Linked DNA regions of Homo sapiens: region 2 is linked to region 1. Evidence: promoter capture Hi-C in 16 types of primary human blood cells and fetal thymus (Javierre and others, 2016). All regions are on one chromosome and are shown on one strand. The core of a region is centred on a gene start or on the middle of the fragment in contact, and the rest is flanking DNA. Distances in the headings are between cores, read along the strand shown.

Region 1 (6,570 bases), core at 1,391-3,890:
AAAAATGGCATTTTGAACCACTCCTTTTTTTTGTTTTTGTTTTTATCCACATGTGCAGTAATCTGAACTGTTTCTCTCTCTCGCTCTCTTTTAATGTCCTGTCTTCAATTGACAGAGTCACATGTCACAGAGAGAGGCTCTGCGCCTGGTCCTTCCAACTAATATTGATACATAAATAAGCTGTTTAATATAAACAAGTCTTTCTATCTGCTGTGCAAATGCACAGTGTGAGGTAGAAATCCCTCAGCCTGACCACCCAGGCGCGCGGGGGACAGCGGGTTTGCCCTACACAAGGAAAGCAAGGTGGGGCTTGTTCCAAGAAGAGCTTAACATTTCTTGAAACGTGATTTTTTTTTATTTTGCCTCCATCCTTTCTCTTTGCTTTCATAACAGCAGAAATCATTACTTAGAAATTAAAATGAAATTTCTCTGGAAAGCAAAAGGAAATATGTCTTGACAAACTGTCATTCTCCTCTCTCTGGCTGGTAGTGTGTTCCTGTTCCCGGGAAAGGGATGGGAGCCACGATGATCGATTTTAATCCCCTCCTAATGCTTCTCCCTTCCCCTAACCCACCCATCTTCCACTCCGGTCCTCTCAGAGAGTGTCAAAAACCACCTGGTGGGGGAAAAAAATCTAAAGATGCATCACACGCACACACAAAAGAAGGCCGGACCACAAACAGAAAAAAAAAAAAAAAAAAAAAAGAAGAAGAAAGAAAAGAAAAGAAAAAAAAAACAACAAGGAACATCAGCAAGCCACTCTCCCATCCCTTCCCAAACTTTCCTTTTTGTGCAACGGTCCGTGGCTTTTCTCTTTGCCTCGGATGATTCAGACGAGGATTGTGGGCTTCGAGTTCACCTGCTATCGGTCTTAAGTAAACACAGATCTCCTCGTTCCCCTGGGAAGCCGTGCCCGGAGTCCGCGCCCCGCGCCGGGCCCTACACCTTGGATTCCGAGGCGAAGCCGGGGCGGCACGGCTCGTCCAGGCTCGAGTCGCTGTCCGCCGCCGCCCCGCCGTTGCAGCCGGCCCAGGGCTCCAGCAGGCGCGCGGGCGGCGTGGCCCCGACGACATCGTCGTCGTCGTCGTCCGAGGCGGCCCCGGGCGATGGCGGGGGTCCGGGCCGGGCCAGACAGCCCGAGGCGCGCGGCCGGTCTCCGTGGGTCGCGTGGCGCCGGCGGGCAGCCCTGCGCGCGCAGCAGAGCAGTCCCTGGAAGGCCTTGCGGAAGTCGGGGCTGCGGCAGTAGATGATGGGGTTGAAGGCCGAGTTGGCGTAGCCCAGCCAGTTGAAGAAGACGAAGAGGCGGTCGGGCACCAGCTCGCGGTGGAAGGCCTTCACCACGTTGGCCAGGAAGAAGGGCAGCCAGCAGAGCGTGAAGACGCCCATGATGATGCCCAGCGTCTTGAGCGCCTTCTGCTCGCGCAGGGCCACGAGGCGCGAGGGCCGCCGCTTACCCGCACGCCCGTTGGCCAGCGGGGCGGTGGCGGCGGCGGCGGCGGGGCGCGGGGGTCCGGGCGGCGGCGCGGGCGCGGGGACGGGCGAGGGCGAGGGCGAGGGCGGCCGCGCTGGGCCGCCGAGGAAACGGCGCTCGCAGCTGTCGATCTTCTTCACCTGCTTCTGGGCCTCGCGGAACACCCGCAGGTACACGAAGGCCATGATGCACAGGGGCACGTAGAAGGAGACTACGGACGAGGCGATGGCGTAGGCCCGGTTGGTGACGAAGTCGCAGCACTTGGGGTCGTTGTAGCAGCGGCGCGCCTCGTCGCTCTCCGCCCGCCACCAGTGCATGAGGATGGGCAGGAAGGACACCAGGGCCGAGATGGCCCACACGGTGCACACGAGGCCCCGCGCCCGCGCGCGCGTCAGCAGGCTCTGGTAGCGGAAGGGCGAGGTGATGGCGAGGTAGCGGTCCAGGGCAATGACACACAGGGTCTCGATGCTGGCCGTCACGCACAGCACGTCCACTGAGGTCCACAGCTCGCAGAAGAAGGAGCCGTACTCCCAGCGGCCCCACACCACGATGGTGGCCCCGAACGGCACCACCAGCAGCCCCATGACCAGGTCGGCGCTGGCCAGGGACATGATGAAGAGGTTGGTGAGCGTCTGCAGCCGCGGCGTCTTGGCGATGGCCACGATCACCAGCACATTGCCCGCCACGATGAGCAGCACGATGAGCGCCATCAGCAGACCCATGCCCGCTGTCCACTGCTGAGACAGCGGCTCGGGGCTTTCGCTGGCGGGAGGCAGCAACGAGGCGGGCGGCGACGCGGGCACCAGCAGCCGCGCCGCGGTGGCCGCGCCGTCGGGGAGCGGTGCGGCCGACGACAGGTTACCGGGCTCGGAGGCGCCCAGGACGAGCACCCCCGCGCCCATGCCGAGCTGCGGAGGCCGGGGGCGGGGGGTGTGGCAGGGCTGGGCCGTGGTTGGGGAACACCCCAGAAGCCCGGGCGGCGTGGTGCGCAGAGGGAGGTCGCGGCCGGGTCAGGGCAGCCGCGGCGCGGGGCCGGAGGCATGGGCGCCGGGCGCCTTTCCCGCAGGAGCCGAGCGCTGTCGCTGCCGCTGCCGCCGCCGCCGCCGCCGCCGCTGCTGCTGGAGCCGCTGCCGCTGCTGGAAGAGCCGCCGGGACTTCAGCATGTTTCTGAGCGCGCCGGGCCCGCAGCTCCGGCACCCAGCACCCACCCCACCCCGCTCCCACTCCCCAAGCCAACCCCCGGGGCCTCGCGTCAGGCTCCTGCAGCCAATCCGGGCAAAGGCACGCCCCCGTCTGGTCTGCACCCCCACCTCCAACTCCCCGCACCCCCCTCCCGTTGGCAATTGAGCGGCTCCTGAGAGTCCCGAGCTGATCGCGTAGCTAGTGCCTCCCGTGCGCCCGCGGGTTCCTGCGGACGCACCCCTTCCTGCGCCCGCTGGTTCCTGGTCCCTGTTCCCCCGCGCCCCCTTCCGCGCCTGGCTCCCCCCGGGGCCCCGTCCCCTCCCTCAGCCCCCACTCGCTCCCGCACCCACTCCTGCGCCCCGTTTGCCTCCCGCACCCGCTCCTGCGCCCCGTTTGCCTCCCGCACCCGCTCCTGCGCCCCGTTTGCCTCCAGCACTCGGCTCCCTCCTGCGCCCCCGCTCCCCCCGCATCCCCTCGACCTGCAGTTCCGGGGTTCTCTGCGGAACAGAGCGCTAGCTCCCTTGAGCGGGGAGGGGACCTTGGTGTTCAGGAAGCGCCAGAGCGCCTGGGACAGCTTGTCCGCCAGGCTTGGAGGAGTTTGCCCTGCGAGCTTGGTTGTGATGTGGGGCAGCCTAGCAGGGTGTGTGTAAAACCCTTCCCCCGTCAAGACGGGACCCAGCCAGCATGCGTCGTGACAGCTTGGGGGATTGGAGGTGGGTGTTAGTGGTTAGAAGAAACTTCCCAGCAGAGCGGGTTGCTGGAGCCAAGCGCGCATCTGTCAAGAATGCTCTCTGGGCGCTGTTCTTGCAAGGATCCTCTGTTGAACCTCGAGTGCAGTAGATGTGGAAAGGAAGCGAAGGTTTGTGCATCTAACAGCTAACGCTGAGGGCCCTTTGGAATCGTACACACTCCTCAGTCCTAGCTAATGAACGTGTGAGCATGATGCAAAAATGTATGCTCATGATATGAAAGGAGAGGCTTAGGGAGACAGAAACGTTGAGATACAGAGTAAACGATACCACCGCGAGGGGGAAAAAACGCGTTTAATTACATTTTAGACTTTTCAATGATAACACCTGTATTTTGTGTTTTATTACTCATGTGATTTTATAATTTGAGCTGGGTCAATACAAACAAAAAGGTACTGTCAGTTTATGCTGACGTAATGAACTGCGATTTCAGATTCCTTGGTCTGCGTGCTTGTTTTCTCCTTTGCCCAAGTTCCCAGATTCTCAAAACTCTGAGATTAGTTTTGAAGGGATGAGACAAGAAAACATATAAATACTCCAGAGGATTAAAATCCAAAAGCATTTAAAGTTGTATCTGTGGTTTTTTTTTTTTTTTTTTTTGAGTTGGCAAATGAATTGCTTTGAAATTAGTGAGTTGTTAACCTGGCAAAAAGGATTATACTGGGGGTGAGGGGACAAGAAAGCCATGAATATGCAATATGGCAGGACTGCAAGCCCCTTCTCTAATTTGGCTCCTGTAGTGTCCTCAGCTCAGGCCTGAAATAAAAAAAAAAATAAAAAAATTAAAAAAATCTCTAATTGAGTCCTTGAGGAGTAAACAGCTTCTAATTGTTTATGTAAGGGTGCATGAAAATGTTATATAATGCTCACAGGTCCTTCTAGCATTGGAATAAGAACAGCGCCCGTAACGAACATCATGTTCGTTGATGGTCATCAATATGACCAAGCTCATATCCTTACCTTGCAAGGAGAGACCGACTTCCACAGCTGTCCAGGTCAAAAGCAAAAAGTAATGTTTTTCAAGTTTATATAAAATCAAGCAGTTTTAACCACTTTCTCTTACATAAATGCAAACATATGAATTTGCTTTAGGCCCAAACCTCAGCATCAGTATGTTAAAACTGGGGAGTGATTTGTTTATTCACCCCCTGCCCATGATTTATCAGCTGATTTTCCAACTTGGGGAGGTTGAGGAGGAGTGGCCAGGAAACAAGAGGCGTTAGAAAGGGGAGGAAGGAGACTACACCCCAAGTTATCCAAGTCACTGAAAGCCTGAGACTCCTGGCTTCTTTCTTTTTATTTTTTTGAGACAGAGTTTCACTTTTGTTGCCCAGGCTGGAGTTCAGTGGCGTGATCTTGGCCCACTGCAACCTCTGCCTCCCGGGTTCAAGTGATTCTCCTGCCTCAGCCTGTCAAGTAGCTGGGATTACAGGCGTGTGCCGCCACACACGGCTAATTTTGTATTTTTAGTGGAGATGGCGTTTTACCATGTTGGTCAGGCTGGTCTCGAACTCCTGACCTCAGGTGATCCACCCACCTTGGCCTCCCAAAGTGCTGGGATTAGAGGCATGAGCCACTGTCCCCGGCCTCCTGGCTTCCTTCTGGACCCACAAGGGGCAGTCTCAAAATAGCCAAGGGATTGGAAGAAGTTGAAATTGACGCTGCCCAGGAAAGGAGTTCTGAGTGCTGAGCTGCAGGGTGAGGCATAGGGAATGTGGGGAAGAGGCTTTTCCTTGCCATCTTTCTGTCAAGTGGTGTTACCGGAATAGAGTGTGTCAACCTTAAATGCCCCCGAAGGGTGGAAGGCATTGCTTTTCTGTGTGCGATAAGGCCAGAACTTGGTCGTAGAGGTTCAGGGCAGAAGCCAGATTGCCAGTAACTTTGCCGTATCATCATTATATATATAAACACATCGTGACATTGGAATTGTTGGAAAACTTTCCTGAAACTTTTTTTCTCTGCTCATTCAGAGATACATCAAGTTTCTCCGAATTTCTGTATAATACATTAAATTATAAACCCTCGAAACCAGAAGGTTATTCTAGCAGGAGTACCAGTACAGGGATCTCAGGAATTCTGGGGGATTTCCTTCAATTTTACTGACAGAAGAGTTTGGAATAGTACATGTTCAACTAGAGTTGGTTGTCTAATAAAAATAAAATGTTCTCAGAACTCCTTTAATTCCTACATTTTATGATTGGTGTTTTTTTTTTTTAACTTTTTTTTTAGCCTAACACTTTTTATTCTTAGGTAAGGATACAAGATCAAGAAGAAAAGGTTCAACGTATCAACTTTTACAGGTATCGGATATTGTAAGTTAAATAAAACTCCTTCATTTCTTCATTCTTCACTTGGCAACTGTTAAAGAGAGTCAGTTCTAAAAACCCATATATTTCACAATGCTTTGGAAAATGACAGAAAGCTCCAACAATGAGGGCTGATCAGCACACTTGAGAGGTCGTGCACTTCTTCCACAGAGTTCCTATCTCAACTTCTTCCTTTCCCATCCCCCCACCTTCACCCCACACCGGGACTTGCCATGGGTTCTATTTGATCTCCCTGTCTCTGGTCCTCCCTGCTCCATTTAATCTGGCATATCATAACCAAAGGAGTATTTCCAAAATGCTGCTTTGACCAAGATGCTTTTCTGTTCAGCAACCTTACCTCTTCAATTTAACATTCACAGTTCTCCCCGGTCCAATTCTAAATGGCCTTTCCAGCCCTATTTCATATTAGAACTCTCCTTATCACCATAACTTGCATTTCTGTATTCTTTTTCCTTTTGGGGATCCATACTCCTTCCTTTTGTACATCTATACTTTCTCACTGGGTTCCCTCCACCAAAACCTCCTCCTGCTTCCCAGCGAATTCAGCCTTGGAGATGTGGCTGGACTCTTTATCTTCTCTGCCCACTGCTTCTGAAAATGATCTCTCCTTCCTCTGACCTATAGTAGTGACTCTGCCAATTTCATTTCAGGTGGCAATTTACAATAGGTTGCCTTTTGATACTTCTTATGTTGTTATTTAATTTTTATATTTTCCCCTTTTCTTCTCTTATAGATTGTAAGCTCACTGAGAGCCAGAATTGTCTCATACATTTTTATATCTCCCATGTTTACTGATATTTACTTGATATTAATGAACATTTAGCTTTGATTCATAAATATA
Region 2 (6,570 bases), core at 2,482-4,981, 260 kb after region 1:
TGCAGTAAGCCGAGATCACACCACTGCACTCCAACCTGGATGACAGAGCAAGACTCTGTTTTAAAAGAAAAAAAATGTGCATATATATTTATATATACATTCCCACGCTTGTATTTTTGTATTATAAAAGTGACATATGCACATTGCAAAAAAAAGTATTCAAACATTACAGAAATGCCTCTCTTCCCATGGCCAACCCTGATCGTATTTCTCAGAGATAACTCTTTACTAAAAATTTGACTCTAAGTTTTAATTTTTTAAAAAAGCACGTAGAGCAAAAGTGGGACAAAGAACACCTATGGAGTGTTTACTCCTGATCAGGCAGTGTACTTATAAGGAAACCTCACAGTAGCCCTGGGAGGTACGGACCTCTCACTCTAGTAAGGGTTGAAGAAATTTGATATACACATATACATACACACAAACACCAAACATTTATTTGTACAAAAGTGGGATGATGTTATCCTTATTATACAACTTGATTCTTTCATTCTTAATGTATCACGAACAATTTTACAGAACTGTGCCTGCTGAACATTTTAATATCTACAGTGTTCAATGATATGAAATCAGAATTAAGCAATACCCACATGATTTTTTTTTTTTTTTTGAGACTGGGTTTTCCTCTTGTTGCCCAGGCTGGAGTGCAATGGCATGATCTTGGCTCACTGCAACTTCCGCCTCCCGGTTCTAGTGATTCTCCTGCCCCAGCCTCTCAAGTAGCTGGGATTGCAGGCATGTGCCACAATGCCCAGCTAGTTTTGTATTTTTAGTAGAGACAGGGTTTCTCCATGTTGGTCAGGTTGTTCTCGAGCTCCAGACCTCAGGTGATCCACCTGTCCCGGCCTCCCAAAGGGTTGGAATTATAGGCATGAACCACCACGTCCAGCCTGATTTTTTATTATTACAAACAGTACTGCAGTAAACTACTTTTTTTACATGTATCTTTGTGTATTTGTGTATTTCTGCATGATAAATTTATAAAAGTAGAAACAGCAGATCCAAAAGGGCATGCGTTCTCACATTAAATAAAGAAATCCCCAAGACCAGGTAATTTATAAGAAAAGAGGTTTGATTGGTCCACAGTTCTGCAGGCTGTACAGGAAGCGTGGCAGCATCTGCTTCCGGGGAGACCTCAGGAAGCTTTCACTTGTGGCAGACAGAGCAGGCATCTTACACGGCAGGAGCAGGAGGAAGAGAGTGAGCGGAGAGGTGCTGCACACTTTTAAACAACCAGATCTCACGAGAACTTACTATCACGAGAACAGCGCCAAGGGGATGATGCTAACTCCTTCGTGAGAACTCCACCCCCACGACCTCACGATCCAGCTGCCTCCCACCAGGCTCCATCTCCAACACCGGGGACCACAGCTCGACATGGGATTTGTTAGGGACACAGATCCAAACCGTATCAGCATGTAAATGAAAAATTTTTAATACTTTCCGAACAATCTGGGTAACAGGAAATGAAATGTATTTGAATGTCTCTTCTAAGTGCTGAAGGTATTTTCAAATCCAAGTTCAACTATGAGGCTGGCATCTGGACATTTGTTTCCCAGAGCTGGTTTTAGATTCTTGGTTCTGCAACTGAACGGTTATGAAACTTGGAGAAACAAAGAAAATATGCCTTTCATCGCTCCGGGGCTCGATTTTTTCCATGTGAAGCATGGTAAAATACTCTTTCTGAAGCCTGTTTTTGCTCTAACACCCCCCGATTTGATTAGTGCTTTAGCTCTCTGCCTTTGTTTTCCTATTTATATAAAAGAATTTTATTCCTTTGGCCTTCCAGGATCAATTAGTCAATGGATCCATTAGTGAAGAACTTTCAACCTTGAAGTGCTAAGTAGTTCTGTTATTGCTTGTAGAGCAAGCTGATCTTGGCTGCATGTGATGTAAAACTGCTGCGACTTCTAAAATCGTTGCTGAGTCTTTAAGAGAACAAGATACTTATTGAATCCAAAAGGCCACTCTGTCTCAGCACTCTGGCCTGTGGGGTTGAAGAGAGGCAGGTGTTTGGGAAGGGGATGTTTGGGAAGGAGGTGTTGGGGAAGGAGTTGTTGGGGAAGGGGGAAGGAGGTGTTGGGAAGGAGGTGTTGGGGAAGGAGGTGTTGGGGAAGGAGGTGTTTGGGAAAGAGGGGTTTGGGAAGGAGGTGTTGGGAAGGCGGTGTTGGGAAGGAGGTGTCTGGGAAGGAGGTGTTTGGGAAAGAGGTGTTTGGGAAGGAGGTGTTGGGGAAGGAGGTGTTGGGAAGGAGGTGTTTGGGAAGGAGGTGTTTGGGAAGGAGGTGTTGGGAAGGAGGTGTTGGGAAGGATGTTGGGGAAGGAGGGGTTTGGGAAGGAGGTGTTGGGAAGGAGGTGTTGGGGAAGGAGGTGTTGGGGAAGGGGGAAGGAGGTGTTGGGAAGGAGGTGTTGGGGAAGGAGGTGTTTGGGAAAGAGGGGTTTGGGAAGGAGGTGTTGGGAAGGAGGTGTTGGGAAGGAGGTGTCTGGGAAGGAGGTGTTTGGGAAAGAGGTGTTTGGGAAGGAGGTGTTGGGGAAGGAGGTGTTGGGAAGGAGGTGTTTGGGAAGGAGGTGTTTGGGAAGGAGGTGTTGGGAAGGAGGTGTTGGGAAGGATGTTGGGGAAGGAGGTGTTGGGAAGGAGGTGTTTGGGAAGGAGGTGTCTGGGAAGCCTGATCAGCTATCACATCTCCCTTGGGAATCTTGCCTTCATGCAGTGAGTATTTGCAACTGTATGTCCCTTAACAAAGAAGGAATTGTGTGGACCACATCCTCACAGAACACAGCATGTATTACATGAAGGACTGACCCAATCTGTGTCTGTGGTGTTTGGGACAATAGCTGAGATAATAAGGCCTTCCAATTCCCCCAGGTTCTCCAATCATGCCACATGACCCTCTTAGCATCTCTGATACAATAACCAGAGAGGGGATAGTCATCCCCATTGTTAAGATGCAGATGCAGAAATTCAGAGGGGGGTGCCGACTGTCTCCTATCACATGGCAGCAGCAGGGGGCAGAGCTGGACAGTCCCAGCTCCATCCTGGTTCTGCTGCCATGGGTCTGGGGTGCGTTACTCCCTGGCTCCTTTCTGCTGGCTCTTTTTAATGGCCGGACTCCTCTTGGGAGCTCTGTTCAGTCTAGGCTTATCCAGCTGAGAAGGTGCAGCACTTTGGCATTTTGAGGGACACATACAGGATGCAGCATGGAATGTCTCTGAATTTGGGATCCTGCCGATGGTAAGCTTTAATTTCTAAAACACAAGAAAGAAGAAAGTTAAATGGCTAAAGATTATCTTTAAGATTGTTGCTTCCCAATCTGTCCTCATTCATACCCTTGGGAGCTGGTATTGAAGAAAGTCCTGCAGTGAACTGTAATATCTGGGCCAGAAATAGACAGGGATGACTTACTTGGCTAGTTAGGTGGAAGGTGGATTTTTATTTTCTGGCATCCATGGCCTGAAAAGGAAGCTGAGCTTTTAAGGAAGGATCCAGGTAGCATTGATGGTGCTCTAAGGGGTCCAATTGCACCAAGAATTAAAAAGGCCTCTTCAAACAAGTGAATCAAAATGAAACCACCAGACAGGACTCCCCCAGACAAGATTGGGAGGAAACTTAAACTTGATCAGTTTCTCCTGCAACCTGTCATGTCCTTCCCCTGCACACACCTTCTCCCCTTCCCTTGAAAATCTCAGTTCTCTCCCCTCCCAATCCCTGCCCCATCCCCACCCCAACCTCCACTTCCCTCATCTGTAGCATAACAGGAAGGAGAGTAAATGGGATTGGCTCAGGCACTTTAAAACATCAAGGGCCAATGGCTGTTCTTCCTTTGGTTCCATATCTCCCTTTTCCAATATTCTTTTTCCTTCCAGGGACTATGTGTTTGAATTTTAAAAGAGCAGTGGATACCCATCAACACAAAGAAATCAGGAATGGAGGCAGTGGGAAAGTAAGGGAATTTTCTATCTTCCAGATAATCATGAAGATGAATACTGCATATTTCTCAATAGCATGTAGGGGCTGTTATCAATTAGAAAGGGAAGGCAGAACGAGCACAAGAGAAATGCAATGACTCCACAGTCTAGAAAGGCAGTCAGGATAAACTGCAGTCAGCAACACCCAGGTACAGTTCCTGGATCTGCTCACAGGCAAAAACCCTTTTCTTGGCTTCTGAATTAATGCCTGGATCTTTGGGTCAGAGTAGTGTTTGGTAACTTTCAGAAGAGTTCAGAAGCTTATATTGACCACTTGGCCCCAGTGTATGTGGATCCTTTTTTTTTTTTTTTGAGACAGAGTCTCACACTGTTCCCAGGGCTGGAGTGCAATGGTGCAATCTCGGCTCACTGCAACCTCCGCTTCCTGGGTTCAAGCTATTCTCCTGCCTCAGCCTCCCCAGTAGCTGGGATAACAGGCACCCGCCACCATGCCCAGCTAATTTTTTGTATTTTTCATACAGACGGGGTTTCACTATATTGGCCAGGCTGGTCTCGAATTCCTGACCTCATGATCTGCCCACCTCCGCCTCCCAAAGTGCTGGGGTTACAGGTGTGAGCCACCACACCCAGCCCAGTGTGGATCTTTGGCAGAGAAAATGTACTATAGTTACCAGATTGTTGGACTAGGGCCCTGAAATCTACTTCTTTTCCACCATGCAGTCTCCTATCCAGTCTTCAAAACCTAAGCCAAACACCACTTTCTTTGAGACACCTTCCTGGCCTCCTTCATGTAGATTTACTCCATTCTACCTCTGTGATCCTATGGCCCTGTGTTCATATCTCAGGGCACACACTGTATAGCAAGTAGCACATAACATGCCTGCTTCATCCACTAATCTGTGAGCTTCAGCTCAGGCTGAGGCCATTTTTGTAGCTCTTGAATTTAGCACAGTATACAGCACCCAGCAGATGCTCAATAAATAGTGAATGGGCCGGGCGCAGTGGCTCTCGCCTGTAATCCCAGCACTTTGGGAGGCCGAGGCGGGCGGATCACGAGGTCAGGAGATTGAGACCACGGTGAAACCCTGTTTCTACTAAAAATACAAAAAATTAGCTGGGCGTAGTGGCCGGCGCCTGTAGTCCCAGCTACTCAGGAGGCTGAGGCAGGAGAATGGTGTGAACCCGGCAGGCGGAGCTTGCAGTGAGCCGAGTTTGCGCCACTGCACTCCAGCCTGGGCGAAAGAGCGAGACTCCGTCTCAAAAAAAAAAAAAAAAAAGAAAGTGAACGAATGTGTACTTGCCCTGCCACTAACTAGTTATATATCTTAGACAACTCATTCACTTATCCTCACTGGAATTACTCATTTAGGGTAATGAGTAATAGGGATGGCACAATTTGTGTGACCAATGGGATTATTACGTAGTGCAGAAGAGATAAGATGTGTTCTTAATATAGATATGCTACACAATCACAAAATTCCTAGAGCTGGAAGAAATTTGGAAATCATCTAATACAATGGTTTTCAGAAATTTGAAGCCAAAGAACTGTTTTTTAAGGAAAGCTAACAGGAAAGTCCAATATTTTGGACTAATCTTTTTTTCATAAAAGATAAAAGATAAATGTAAGCTTCTCCAGTTGAAGACCCAGCATACTCTCTCCTTCCTCTCCTCTCCTTTCACCTCCATCCTGGGGATGCAAGAAGCACAGTTTGAAAACCAGCCTCTCACTTTAGTGAGAATAAGCTGAAGCCCAGAGAAGGCAGTGAATTTCCTAAGGTCACAGGGCTAGTTAGAAAGAAAAGTAGACCAGGGAAGGAATTAACACATGAAGACTGCAGTGATATGCAGGACAATAGCTAGTCCTTGAAAAAACAACATACTTAGTGCATACCCATATAATATTAGGGGTGGTCTGTTGTTGTTTTTCTTTTGAGACAGGGTCTCGCTCTGTCTTCCAGGCTGGAGTGCAGTGGTGCAATCATAGCACACTGTAACCTTGAATTCCTGGGCTCAATTGATTCTCCTGCCTTGGCCTTCCGAAGTGCTGGGATTACAGGTGTAAGCCACCGTGCCCAGCACCACATATTATGTTTAATTCTTGCAATATTCTATGAGGAAGTTAGGGCTGTGACGATTTCTGAGATAATGAAACTGAGGCTTTAAAAAATGGGCTTGAATAACATTCCATGGTCAGTTGTAGTAGAAGTAAAAGTAACTAGTAGCTTTATTGAGCACCTAATATGTGCCAGTCACCTTTGTAAGCACGTTACACATATTACCTCATTTAATTATCCAACAACCAGCACCATCATTAGTCATAATTTTACAGAAAAGAAAACTGAGGCACAAATTGGTTGAAGGAGCTGTTTTGGAATCCCTGCACCAGTCTGATTCCATGCAAGCTCTTTTTGCTACATCATGCCGATCTGAGGTCCTGAACCCAGGTGCTCTGTCTCTTAGCTCAGTGCCTTCTCCAAATGCTACTTGATATGAAAGAATCCTGAAAGAGTCCTGAAAGCACATTCTGTTATTTGCACTTGATGGTGGAAGAATGAGGAACCTTATTTGTATTCAGGGTACTTCTCAGACTCCATCTAAGACCCTGATCTTTTTCCTTCTGGTACTGATTTGCCCTGTTCAGGGCTG

The links. Contacts are between HindIII fragments. The CHiCAGO score rates a contact against its expected background, and 5 or more counts as called.
Region 2: a fragment that was not itself captured here is called in contact with the fragment with the promoter of ADRB1 in region 1 in 1 of 17 cell types (megakaryocytes); the score reaches 7.2 in megakaryocytes.

The regions. Positions count from the first base shown.
Region 1 is chr10:114,039,936-114,046,505 of GRCh38, reverse strand. It overlaps ADRB1 (adrenoceptor beta 1), which reads right to left and starts at 2,640. Exons shown (of 1, transcript NM_000684.3): 1 at 1-2,640. The coding sequence starts at 2,373. The coding sequence ends at 940. RefSeq lists silencers at 2,543-2,602, 2,673-2,952 and an enhancer at 3,223-3,272. The HindIII fragment of the contact is 8,909 bases long and covers 1-6,570 here.
Region 2 is chr10:113,777,275-113,783,844 of GRCh38, reverse strand. It overlaps PLEKHS1 (pleckstrin homology domain containing S1), which reads right to left. Exons shown (of 13, transcript NM_001395068.1): 13 at 416-3,243. The coding sequence ends at 3,064. It overlaps MIR4483 (microRNA 4483), which reads left to right and starts at 5,791; the gene lies at 5,791-5,852. The HindIII fragment of the contact is 989 bases long and covers 3,237-4,225 here.